Regions from separate parts of the Homo sapiens genome. Here all the other regions are linked to region 3. The links are contacts of gene promoters, found by promoter capture Hi-C in human tissues and cell types (Jung and others, 2019). All regions are on one chromosome and are shown on one strand. The core of a region is centred on a gene start or on the middle of the fragment in contact, and the rest is flanking DNA. Distances in the headings are between cores, read along the strand shown. Region 1 overlaps EEA1 (early endosome antigen 1). Region 2 overlaps EEA1 (early endosome antigen 1). Region 3 holds the start of UBE2N (ubiquitin conjugating enzyme E2 N). Region 4 overlaps EEA1 (early endosome antigen 1).

Region 1 (2,784 bases), core at 57-2,556, 610 kb before region 3:
AATTGAAAATGCTAGCTTACCTGCTCTTCTAACCGAGAAAGTTTGAGTTGTAAATCAGCCACTTGTTGTTCTTTATCCATCAACTTTTCACTTGAAAGCTGTCTCTGTTCCTTCAGCCTACCATGAGCTTCCCCTAGTTGGCGCTCTGTCTCCAGAAGTTTGCTATGTAACTTTAAAAAAAGAAAAAAAAATGTATGTACATATGTACAAACACACACACAGCACCACCTACTTTCCAAACAATGTTTTACTTTTCACCAAAATAAGTACAATATCTTAATTTTCGTGATACTTTGGGGAAACCTAAGATTTTATACAGTAATTTTAACTGCAACTGAATTTTAATCATATATTATAATGAATCACATAAAATTATCGTTAAACATCACAATTTTTGTTTTTGTGTTATGTTACTGCTCTCTTAAAACAAATGCAGGTTCTTGTTTGGATATAAGTGTTGGAACTTTCAGGAACTTAAAAGAATAAAATACAACTTAAAAATTAAGACACTTAGTACACACTCAGATCTATTTTACAGTATTGTTTAAAGTTCCACAGTGATTCTTGTTGGTTTTCCATAGCCAAGAACTACTACAGTTAACTTTTTACATTTGGGTATTGGATAGTGCCCAGTGCATTCCCAAGTCCTCATACTGGCACATAATTTCTAAATAAAATACAGGAAATGATCATATATATAGATATATATATGTGTACATATATATATCATATATATATATATATGGTGACCCTCATTCATTAACTTTACAAATGCCACCCAATTAAAACTAAGGGAGTTAAGAACCATCACGAGTAGTCCACCCTGTTATACATACCCTATCCTAACAGCAAATCAGTGTTCCTTCCTACCTCTTACAACACTTTCCTGCCACTAGTTCGCTCTCACTAATCCCTCTGGCTGTGAGACACATCTGCTTTCGAACTGCCACCTGTCAAAACCTATCCGATATTCCCAATTCCAAGTACCACCTCCTCTCTCTAACACAAAGATTTCCTGATCACATAAATGGATTAAAAATTACAACAGCTGAAGTACTAAGAGGGGGAACAAAAGAAAGAAACTCTTCCAATTTCCCATAATATACAGAATCCTTTTATTATAATTCTCATAATCTTTGGTATGATAGATAGTACTTGCCTTATCCTCTCCATGATATTTACACAATTATTAAAGGTAGGTACTGTCTCTTACTCATTTATGTATCCCCTAGTAAATGAGGGATGTGTCTTTTAGAAAGCATAAACGCAGCCAGGCACAGTGGCTCAGGCCTGTAATCCCAGCTACTCAGGAGGCTGTGGCAGGAGAATCGCTTGAACCCGGGCGGCAGAGGTTGCAGTGAGCTGAAATCTCGCCACTGCACTCCAGCCTAGGCAACAAAGTGAGATTCCATCTCAAAAGAAAAGAAAAAGAAAAAAAGAAAGCATAAATGCTAAATTTGTTTATCTGAACTAAAACTCAAATATGTAAGTTAGTTTAAGTTATTCATTGATATCCCCATGGCTCAGTTTCCTTCCACTATGAATGCTTATATTTATTCATTCATTCACTCACTAAAACATAGGCAGATTAACAAGCAAAATGCTGGCTGGGCGCGGTGGCTCATGCCTGTAATCCTAGCACTTTGGGAGGCTGAGGAGGGTGGACTGTCTGAGCTCAAGAGTTCGAGACCAGCCTGGGCAACATGGTGAAACCCCATATCTACTGAAATACAGAAAGTCAGTCAGGTGTGGTAGCATGTGCCTGAAGTCCCGGCTACTCAGGAGGCTGAGGCACGAGAATTGCTTGGACCCGGAAAATGGAGGTTGCAATGAGCCGAGATCATGCCACTGCACTCCAGCCTGGGTGACAAAGTGAAACTCTGTCTTAAAAAAAAAAAAAAAAAACAAAAAACAAGCCAAATGCCAGGCAGTAAAAATAAAAAATGAGTAAGAGATGGTCTTTGCACCCGAAGAGTTCAGAGTCTATTAAAGAAAGACATAAATTATGATAATAAACTATATTATGGTATAAGTAAAATATTAAAGATATGTACATGCTTAAGCTATCTTGGGTGTGGGGAAGCAGTGGCATGTTTAGAAAGGATTTTTAGGGAGAGTGTGGGGGGGGCGGGTGAGGGTTGAAAAATTACCTGTTGGGTACAATGGTTACTATACGGGCAATGGGTACACTAACAGTCCAGACTTCAACATTACACAACACATACATGCAAGAAATCTGCACTTTTACCCCCTAAATATATTTTTTAAATTTTTTCAAATATTTAACTTTTATTTTAGGTTCAGGGATACATGTGCAGGTTTGTTATATAGGTAAATTACGTGTCACAGGGGTTTGGTGTACAGATTATTTCATTACCTAGGTAATAAACATAGTACCCAATAGGCAGTTTTTCGATCCTCACCCTCCTCCCACCTTCCACCCTCAAGCAGGTCTGGCTGTCTGTTGTTCCCTTCTTTGTGTCCATATGTATTTAATATTTAGCTCCCACTTTTAAGTGAGAACATGTGGTATTTGATTTTCTGTTCCTATATTAGCTCGCTTAGGACAATGGCCTCCAGCTCCATCCACATTGCTATAAGGAGCATGATCTTGTTCCCTAAAAAAAAAAATTATAAAAAGTGACAAGTGAAGTAAATAGTATCTATCAAGGTGAAGAGGAATAAAAAGAATATTTCAGGTCAAGAAGACAGACTGAATGATACAACAAAAGCAAGACACAGCACACATGTAGGAAAAAACTAAAGACACTTCCATATTCTTGC
Region 2 (2,822 bases), core at 300-2,799, 560 kb before region 3:
AAGACAAAAATGAAGACCTTTATGACCTTCCACTTAAAGAATAGTAAATATATTTTCTCTTTGTTATGACGATTTTCCTTTTCTTTTTTGGCTCTATGGAATCTTTCTAGTCATATGATTTTTCTTTTTTTTTTGTTGAGACAAAGTCTCACTCTGTTGCCCAGGCTGGAGTGCAGTGGAGTGATCTCAGCTCACTGCAACCTCTGCCTCCTGAGTTCAAGTGATTCTCCTGCCTCAGCCTCCTGAGTAGCTGGGATTACAGTCACGTGCCACCATGACTGGCTAATTTTTGTATTTTTAGTAGAAACATGGTTTCATCACGTTGGCCAGGCTGGTCTCAAACTCCTGACCTCAGGTGATCTGCCCGCCTCGGCCTCCCAAAGTGCAGGATTACAGGCATGAGTCACCGTACCTGGCATCTTTTTTTTTTTTTCCACTTTTATTTTAGATTCAGAGGGTGTATGTGCAGGTTTGTTACCTGGGTATATTGCATGATGCTGAGCTTTGGGGTACAAATGATCTTGTCACCCAGGTACTAAGTATAGTACCCAACAGTCGGATTTTCAACCACTGCCCACCCCCTTCCCTTCTCATTCTAGTAGTCTCCAGTTTCTGTTGTTGCCATCTTTATGTCCATGAGTACCCAATGTTTAGCTCCCATTTATAAGTGAGAACAAGCAGTATCTGGTTTTCTGTTCCTGTGTTAATTTGCTTGGGATAATAGCCTCTAGCTGCATCAGTATTCCTACAAAGAATATGATTTTGTTATTTTTATGCCTGTGTGGTATTCTGTGGTATATATGTACCATTTCTTTTTTTTATCCAATCCACCATTGATGGGCACATAGTCCGATTCCATTTATTTGCTATTGTGAATAGTGCTGTAATGAACATACAAATGCGCATGTCTTTTTGGTAGAACAGTTTGTTTTGTTCAGATATATACTCAGTAATGGATTACTGGGTTGAATGGTAGTCCTGTTTTAAGTTCTTTAAATCTCGAAACTGCTTTCCACAGTGGCTGAACTAATTTACATTCCCACCAGCAATGTATAAGCATTCTCTTTTCTCTGCAGCCTCACCAACATTTGTTTTTTAATATTTTAATAACAGCCATTCTAACTGGTGTGAGATGGTATCTCATTGCGGTTTTGATTTGCATTTCTCTGATGATTAGAGATATGGACCATTTTGTCACGTTTCTTGGCCATTTGTATGTCTTCTGAGAAGTGTCTGTTCGTGTCTTTTGACCATTTTTTAATGGGGCTTTTTGCTTGTTCAATTGTTTAAGTTTCTTACAGATTCTGGATATTAGACCTTTGATATCTGCAAACTTGGCTGCACAGTTTGCAAATATTTTCTCCCATTCTGCAGGCTATCTCTTAACTCTGTCGATAGTTTCTTTCACTGTGCAGAGGCTCTTTAATTAGTCCGGCTTGTCAATTTTTGATTTTGTTGCAATTGCTTTTGAGGACTTAGTTATAAATTCTCTCCCGACACTAATGTCCAGAATGATGTTTCCTAGGTTTTCTTCTAAAATTCTTATAGTTTAAGGTCTTACATTTAAATCTTTAATCTATTTTGAGCTAAATTTTTTATATGGTGAAAGGTAGGGAATCCAGTTTCATTTTTCTGCATAAGCCACATGATTTTCTTAATAATATTTTCTTTTCTCTATCTTACTTTATCGTAAGAATACAGTGAGACACGTTCATCAGCTTGTTCTTTTCTGCCCGCGGACGCCACTGAAGAAGCATCGTTAAAGTCTCTCTTCTCCCTTCCGTCATGTCTAAGTCAGAGTCTCCTAAAGAGCCCGAACAGCTGAGGAAGCTCTTCATTGGAGGGTTGAGCTTTAAAACAACCGATGAGAGCCTGAGGAGCCATTTTGAGCAATGGGGAACGCTCACGGACTGTGTGGTAATGAGAGATCCAAACACAGAGCACTCCAGGGGCTTTGGGTTCATCACACATGCCACTGTGGAGGAGGTGGATGCAGCCATGAATGCAAGGCCACATAAGGTGGATGGAAGAGTTGTGGAACCAAAGAGAGCTGTCTCAAGAGAAGATTCTCAAAGACCAGGTGCCCACTTAACTATGAAAAAGATATTTGTTGGTGGCATTAAACAATGAAGAACAACACCTAAGAGATTATTTTGAACAGTATGGAAAAATTGAAGTGACTCAAATCATGACTCACTGAGGCAGTGCCAAGAAAAGGGGCTTTGCCTTTGTAACCTTTGACGACCATGACTCCGTGGATAAGACTGTCATTCAGAAATACCATACTGTGAATGGCCACAACTGTGAAGTTAGGAAAGCCCTGTCAAAGCAAGAGATGGCTAGGGCTTTATCCAGCCAAAGAGGCTGAAGTGGTTCTAGAAACTTTGGCGGTGGTCGTGGAGGTGGTTTTGGCAGGAATGACAACACTGGTAGTGGAGGAAACTTCAGTGGTGGTGGTGGATATGGTGGCAGTGGGGATGGCTATAATGGATTTGGTAATGATGGAAGCAATTTTGGAGGTGGTGGAAGCTACAATGATTTTGGCAATTACAACAATCAGTCTTCAAATTTTGGACCCATGAAGGGAGGAAACTTTGGAGGCAGAAGCCCTGGCCCCTATGGTGGTGGAGGCCAATACTTTGCCAAACCATGAAACCAAGGTGGCTATGGTGGTTCCAGTAGCAGCAGTAGCTATGGCAATGGCAGAAGATTTTAATTAGGAAACAAAGCTTAGCAGGAGAGGAGAGCCAGAGAAGTGACAGGGAAGCTACAGGTTACAACAGATTGTGAACTCAGCCAAGCACAGTGGTGGCAGGGCCTAG
Region 3 (2,880 bases), core at 319-2,818:
AAGATTCACATTATTAGACTCCAGTGCTCCCTGACAATCTGTTCTACTTCTCTCATTTCTAAGAATTTCTACCATACAAAAACGTCTTATTTCTCTACATCAGCACCCTTAGGTCAGTGACATCTCCCTCATCTCAGATATATTTAAATGCAATTGGATGAAGCAGTATACAGTACATCATCCTCGAAGCCTAACAGGTCTTCCACTTAGTATGCATCTCCCCACAGATTTCACAAGAATGAGCAAGATTAACATACACGTTCACCAGGTTATATCAAGCAAAATGATGCTGCAATTGAGTCACTTTAACTGGCGCATTTAGTCACATAAATGTGCAACTAATTTCCTTCATAAAAACCGACACAAAAATTTAAGGTTTAGTTGTTGTGATGACAAGGAATATCTCACGTCTGAAGACTTGTCGATATTTCCTTAAGACTTTACAAAATCAAAGAATCGAAAATGTCATGGTTCCATACATACTTGTCAAAACACAGTATTCATAAACAGCCAATTAATAATTAAAACGCACAAAATTGAGGGGCAAAAGATTTCACGAGATCCCCCACAGAGGCCAAGGTAGGAAGATCTCTGAAGCCAGGAGTTTTGGAAGCCGCCTGGGCACTATAGCGAGGCCTCATATCTACGAAAAAGAGAGGAGAGGAGAGAAGAGGAGAGAGAAAGAGAATCCCCCATAACTGCGGCCCTCCCCCAGCCTTGTGTTAAAACTATTTCCTCGGAACAGCTCTGAAAGAGTTTGCCAACCAGAGTAAAATCACTTCGCAGAGATAAACGAGCGGAAACGTATTCAGAAGAGAGAGATCGCGGAAGCAAGGGCAGCGGGGCGCGGGGCCCCCACGTCCCGGGACCCAGGCAGCCGCGGCAACCAGGGGCGAGCATGTGCTGACCGCGGCAGGACGCGCGGGCCTCCCAGAGCCACTTCCCGGGGCGCAGGGCCCCGCCCGGCCTGACCCTCCCGGTTCATTCATTCTGCACCCGCGGTTGCCGCACCTCCGCGGCCCCGTCGGGGCGGAGAAGAGGGGCTTGGCTGCCGAGGGACCTTGTCGGGCCACAATCCCCACCAGGCGCCCGAGCCCCGCCGCGATTCCCGCGCGCCCGCGGCCTCCGGCGGGGGGGTGGTCTCAGAAGCTATGGAGGCCCGCGCCCAAGCCCAGAGACCCCCAGCCTTGCCGCCCCACCCTCCGCCGGGGCGTGGGACAGCACTCCCTGGCCCGCCGGGCAGCCGCCTGGAAGCCCCGGGTCCCCGCTGTCCGGCTGCCCCGCCGCGGCCGGAAGTCTCCCCGGCGCCCCCTCCTCAGCACCCGACTTCCCTCGCCGCCGCGGCCAACCCCTCTCCGCGCCGCCTCGGGCCTCCCAGAGCGGGCCGCGGGCCGAAGGAGGCGAGAGGCCGCGCTGCCTGCCCAGCTGAGCCGACGAGAGCAGAGCGAAGAGCTGGAGGCCGGCCTGGGCGGTTACCTTGATGATCCTGCGGGGCAGCCCGGCCATCTTGTCAGAACCCGAGTTCGGCCTCTGGTCTCGTCTCCGGCTCCTCTCGCCTCACGCACGAGTGGAAGTCCCGGGCTCCACTTCCGGGGGACGTTGCCGCGCCCGTCGCCGCAGCCGCCGCCGAGGCCCCTCGGGAAATGTAGTCCCTGCTCGGGCGCGGGCTCGGGCACGGGCGGGCTTCCCTCCGACCTGGCCCCCTCCCCCGTGCGCCCCGCCCCAACCGCTGCCGGGGATGGCGGAAGTGACGCTCTGTTGCGGGGCAGGGACTTGGGACAGGCCGCGAGGGGAGGCGCGGGGCTCTGGCGCTCGTGGCCGAGCCTGCCCGCGACGGTGGTACGGCACGACCCGCGCGCGACTGCGCGCGCGTCTCTCTTAACCGTGGCCACGCCCGCGCCGGTGGACGACGTAACAGAGGCCTGGCCTACGACGTATCCCATTCATTCATTCACGCGTTCGTTCTTTCAGCTCACGCGTTCGTTCTTTCAGCTCAGCCTGCATTGCGCGCGTTCCCTGCTGGCTCTGCAGTGAACGACTGAGGTGGGGCTCATCGTCTTGCTCCTTCCTCAAAGGGAGGGCAAGACCGAAACTCGGTGGCAAAGCTCTGACTGGGGGTCTCTCCAGTTACTCACACGCTGTTGGGGGAGTTTTGATGTTTAAATTGTATAAATCGGACCTCTGACACGCCCCTAGGCCCAGGGTAGGCTGAAGGAAAAGGGTTTGGAGCGAGTTGGAGGCGGGAAGAATGGTTCTGAACGCCTAGACCTAAAGGTTGAGACTCAGAATTGTTAACAGGACGAATGACCAAGGAGAGGTTTAAAGAACCCAGAGTAATCCGTAAAGCAGAGATTACCTATAGAGTGCGAGGTCCTATGAGAGAATTAGAGTGGGGGTGCCCGAAAATTGAATTGTTGGGGAAGCGTTTTATCCTGATGACGGATGGTTTGCTGTGTGATGGACTGTTTGCAAGCACTTTACTTCATCTTCACAGCAATCGTGAGGAGGTGTTGTTTCCATTTTACAAATGAGGCTTAGATAGTTAACCTTTTCCAAGGAGCTGTTTTGTCCCCAGGCAGATCCGCCAAGACCTGGCCCTTAACTACTTAACCACAGTGTTTCCTAGCACACTAACAGACAGTAGATGGTGAATAAATGAAGACAAGACTGACCGTGCCTTCCAGGAACTTAGATTCCAATGGAGAAGAGAGACCAGTAAACAATTAGTTACAATCCAATGTGTTAAGGGCTGTCTGTAATACAGGTTCCTCCAAGGTGCTATTTTAGCAGAGAGGCATTAACTGCTTGAGAACTCAGGGAAGCCTTCTTAAATAAGTGAAGTCCTCAATGATGAGTAAGAACCTACCTGACCTTGTAGGG
Region 4 (2,894 bases), core at 102-2,601, 630 kb before region 3:
TTACAAAGTGTTAGAGCTGATAATCACAATAAAAACTCAGTTCTAAATAACCACTATTTTTAATAGGTACCCAAAAAGAATTCTCATTAGACACTTTTCAGTAAAATAATACTTCTGTTATTTTTAACCATGCCTAAAGTACCTTGCCTTTGCTATTATCGTTTGTCATAAAGAAAAAGGAACCTATAAACAGAATTGTAAATGTAATTATTCCCCCATACTATATTGGTATGTATGTACATATATTCATTTCATGACTCTAAACTTATACACACACGCTTCACCGGGTTGAGGAAGTATAAGTTACATATATAGTAACTTGAGAAGTTTTTGTTTAACTGATAGTAGCTCAATTTTTAAAAATTTTTTTTTTTTTTATTTTTAGCCAAAGGCAGTTAAGCAGCAAGCGGTTCTAATTTGAAGGACACAAAAACTCAGGTCAAATCCTTCTGAGATGTCTAATCATCTTATCTCTTCAGTAAATCAACACATTCATATGGAGTTGTGTTAAAGTAAGATACAGTTTATCATAGTCTCAATGTGTTTTTAAATTAGAAGCAAAATCCAAAGGGTATAAAGTTCTAAAAAGGAAAAGTCTACCATATCTGAAATGTGATATTGGAGTAAGTTGGTAAGAGATGGAAGAATGAAGGAACAGAAGAGACTTCACAACAAAAAATTGAGAAGTTCCTTGTAATGGTAGAGTAGATACCTGGTTATCTGTCTTTGGAAAAAGTAACACATTACAATGGAATCAGTATGTAAGTTGACTGTCATTTATAAAAGATGCTCATTAAGGGAGACATTAAAAATAAAGATAGAATTCAAACTTAAGACATGAAAAATTACAAGCAATTTTTTAAAAATTTTATACCACAACTTCACCTTTCTTTGTTAACTAAAAATCTTTGATTCCATGTAGGTCATGAGATTCCATTGCTACTGAAGTAGAAAATATGACTAAATTCAACTTCTTTTATACAAACCTTAATTTGACCTTCTAGCTCTTCGGTTTTCTGTTCTAAAGAGAGGTATTTCTCTTTATATTCTTTAAGATGACTTTCCAGCTGACTGCAATGTTCTTGCTTGTCTTGTAACTTTGCAGTGACCTGATCCAACTGAGTAGTAATCTTATTTAACTCCTTTAGAAAAGTACAATTGAAGAAAACTTTGGTAAGGTTTACTATATTGTAGTGGCCAAATGTTCAACGTAAAATTGAAAACTCTAATTTTATTTAAAAAAATATTTGGAGTAAGAGCTCAGATAAATCTAATGATATATCAGAGGCTATACTTACCTACCAATATAAACGACATGAACTAAATTCTTGCATAGTCTGAGATCCTAAGTTTATATGTATAACAGTTTAATAACTTTTCAATGTTTATCTAGGAAGAATTATTTTAGGAGCCAAATATTAGCCAGGCTAATAATAAAATAACACTTTTATATTATAATTAAATATTTTCAATGTTCAAGACACCAATTTTTAAAACTATTTTTTAAAAATATTACAGTGTTTACATTTATGATGCTTTTCAATTCATTTGGAATATCCAGTTGCACAAAAAAAAAAAAATAAAATAAAAATTACTAGTAAATCTACTATGTACCAAAAGTAGGACACATACCAAATTTAACAGCAAACATTCCATTCAAATGGGCTTTTCATAAAGGGTAAATATAGAAAACTGTTTTGTTCTGTTTTTTAACTTGATATACTTCTGTATTGTTTTTTAAAAAATGGACCAATAAAGCCAGGTGCGGTGGCTCACACCTATAATCCCAGCACTTTGGGAGGCCAAGGTGGGTGAATCACCTGAAGTCGGAGTTTGAGACCAGCCTGACCAACATGGTGAAACCCTGTCTCTACTAAAAATACAAAATTAGCCAGGCACGGTGGCACATGCTTGTAATCCCAGCTACTTGGGAGGCTGAGGCAGGAGAATTGCTTGAACCCGGCAGGTGGAGGTTTCAGTGAGCCAAGATTACACCATTGCGCTCCAACCTGGGTAACAAGAGCAAAAAACTCCATCTAAAAAAAAAAAAGACCAATAACTAATATTACTCCCTGAATAACAAGTAAATTTTAAAAATTTCTACCAGTAAAAGCTAAGAAAAATCTACCAGCAACATTCACCGTGACCCTAAAGTAGGATGCTTCTATTCTACCAGAGTATCGCTTCTGTATTCCCTCCAGCTCCTCACTTCCTCCTATTACCAAGAAAGGAGTAACTCTTATAACTGAGGTAGAATATACAGTGTTCTTTTCCTGTTTCCAAGTGGCAAGTACATTTGGGTCATGGTCCAGTCTACCTACTAAAAACAAATGTGGTGGTCTGCCCCATCCAATCACCAACACTTGAAGGGATGGGGCAACAATTCAAAAGTTAGGAGGAAACATTACTGCTCTACACCAAGGTCTAGGCTAGGGGAGAAGGACAATATCAGGAAACCAACCACACCTGCACACTAGTAGAAATTTATCAAAAACAAAGCTGTTATTTTTATCTCCATCTATGTGACCCCCACTTTTACTACTCAACTGGAACTCATGGAGAAATTAAGGGGGATAAGCAAGTCTATCACAAGATTATACAAAACTGGGTATCATCTTTACATGTTTGCAATTTATTTATCTACCAAAGCACTAGGTGATAGTATGAAATTGCATCTGTTTCCCTACCTGCTGTTTATCTTGTAATGCATTTTGAGCTGTGTCCAAATGATTCTGAAGATCAGCTCTTTGAGCAGTTTTTGCTGCTTCTGCTGATAGTAATAGTTCGGTTTTGGCTTTAATCTGTAACAGCATTTACAAATTATTTAATTTATATTTAGTTCTTGATTTCCTCTTGCTTGAACGCACACTCCTTTTGTGACTAAACAAACTATT

What was found. The method cuts DNA at HindIII sites, captures the fragments that hold promoters and counts their contacts. A contact is called where the count stands out against the background at its distance.
Region 1: a fragment that was not itself captured here is called in contact with the fragment with the promoter of UBE2N in region 3 in 1 of the 25 tissues and cell types used here (psoas muscle).
Region 2: a fragment that was not itself captured here is called in contact with the fragment with the promoter of UBE2N in region 3 in 1 of the 25 tissues and cell types used here (aorta).
Region 4: a fragment that was not itself captured here is called in contact with the fragment with the promoter of UBE2N in region 3 in 1 of the 25 tissues and cell types used here (pancreas).

The regions. Positions count from the first base shown.
Region 1 is chr12:92,827,892-92,830,675 of GRCh38, forward strand. EEA1 (early endosome antigen 1) reads right to left here. Exons shown (of 29, transcript NM_003566.4): 12 at 21-170. Among named protein-coding and RNA genes, the nearest start is that of EEA1, 100 kb to the right of the region's middle. The HindIII fragment of the contact is 8,478 bases long and covers 1-2,784 here.
Region 2 is chr12:92,881,989-92,884,810 of GRCh38, forward strand. All of the region lies in intron 2 of EEA1 (early endosome antigen 1), which reads right to left. It also overlaps the pseudogene HNRNPA1P50. Among named protein-coding and RNA genes, the nearest start is that of EEA1, 46 kb to the right of the region's middle. The HindIII fragment of the contact is 3,784 bases long and covers 1-2,822 here.
Region 3 is chr12:93,440,379-93,443,258 of GRCh38, forward strand. UBE2N (ubiquitin conjugating enzyme E2 N) reads right to left here and starts at 1,569. Exons shown (of 4, transcript NM_003348.4): 1 at 1,477-1,569. The coding sequence starts at 1,506. RefSeq lists silencers at 785-904, 935-1,074, 1,225-1,434, 1,515-1,974 and an enhancer at 1,467-2,104. The HindIII fragment of the contact is 20,755 bases long and covers 1-2,880 here.
Region 4 is chr12:92,810,293-92,813,186 of GRCh38, forward strand. EEA1 (early endosome antigen 1) reads right to left here. Exons shown (of 29, transcript NM_003566.4): 16 at 2,688-2,801; 17 at 987-1,142. Among named protein-coding and RNA genes, the nearest start is that of PLEKHG7, 110 kb to the left of the region's middle. The HindIII fragment of the contact is 3,829 bases long and covers 1-2,894 here.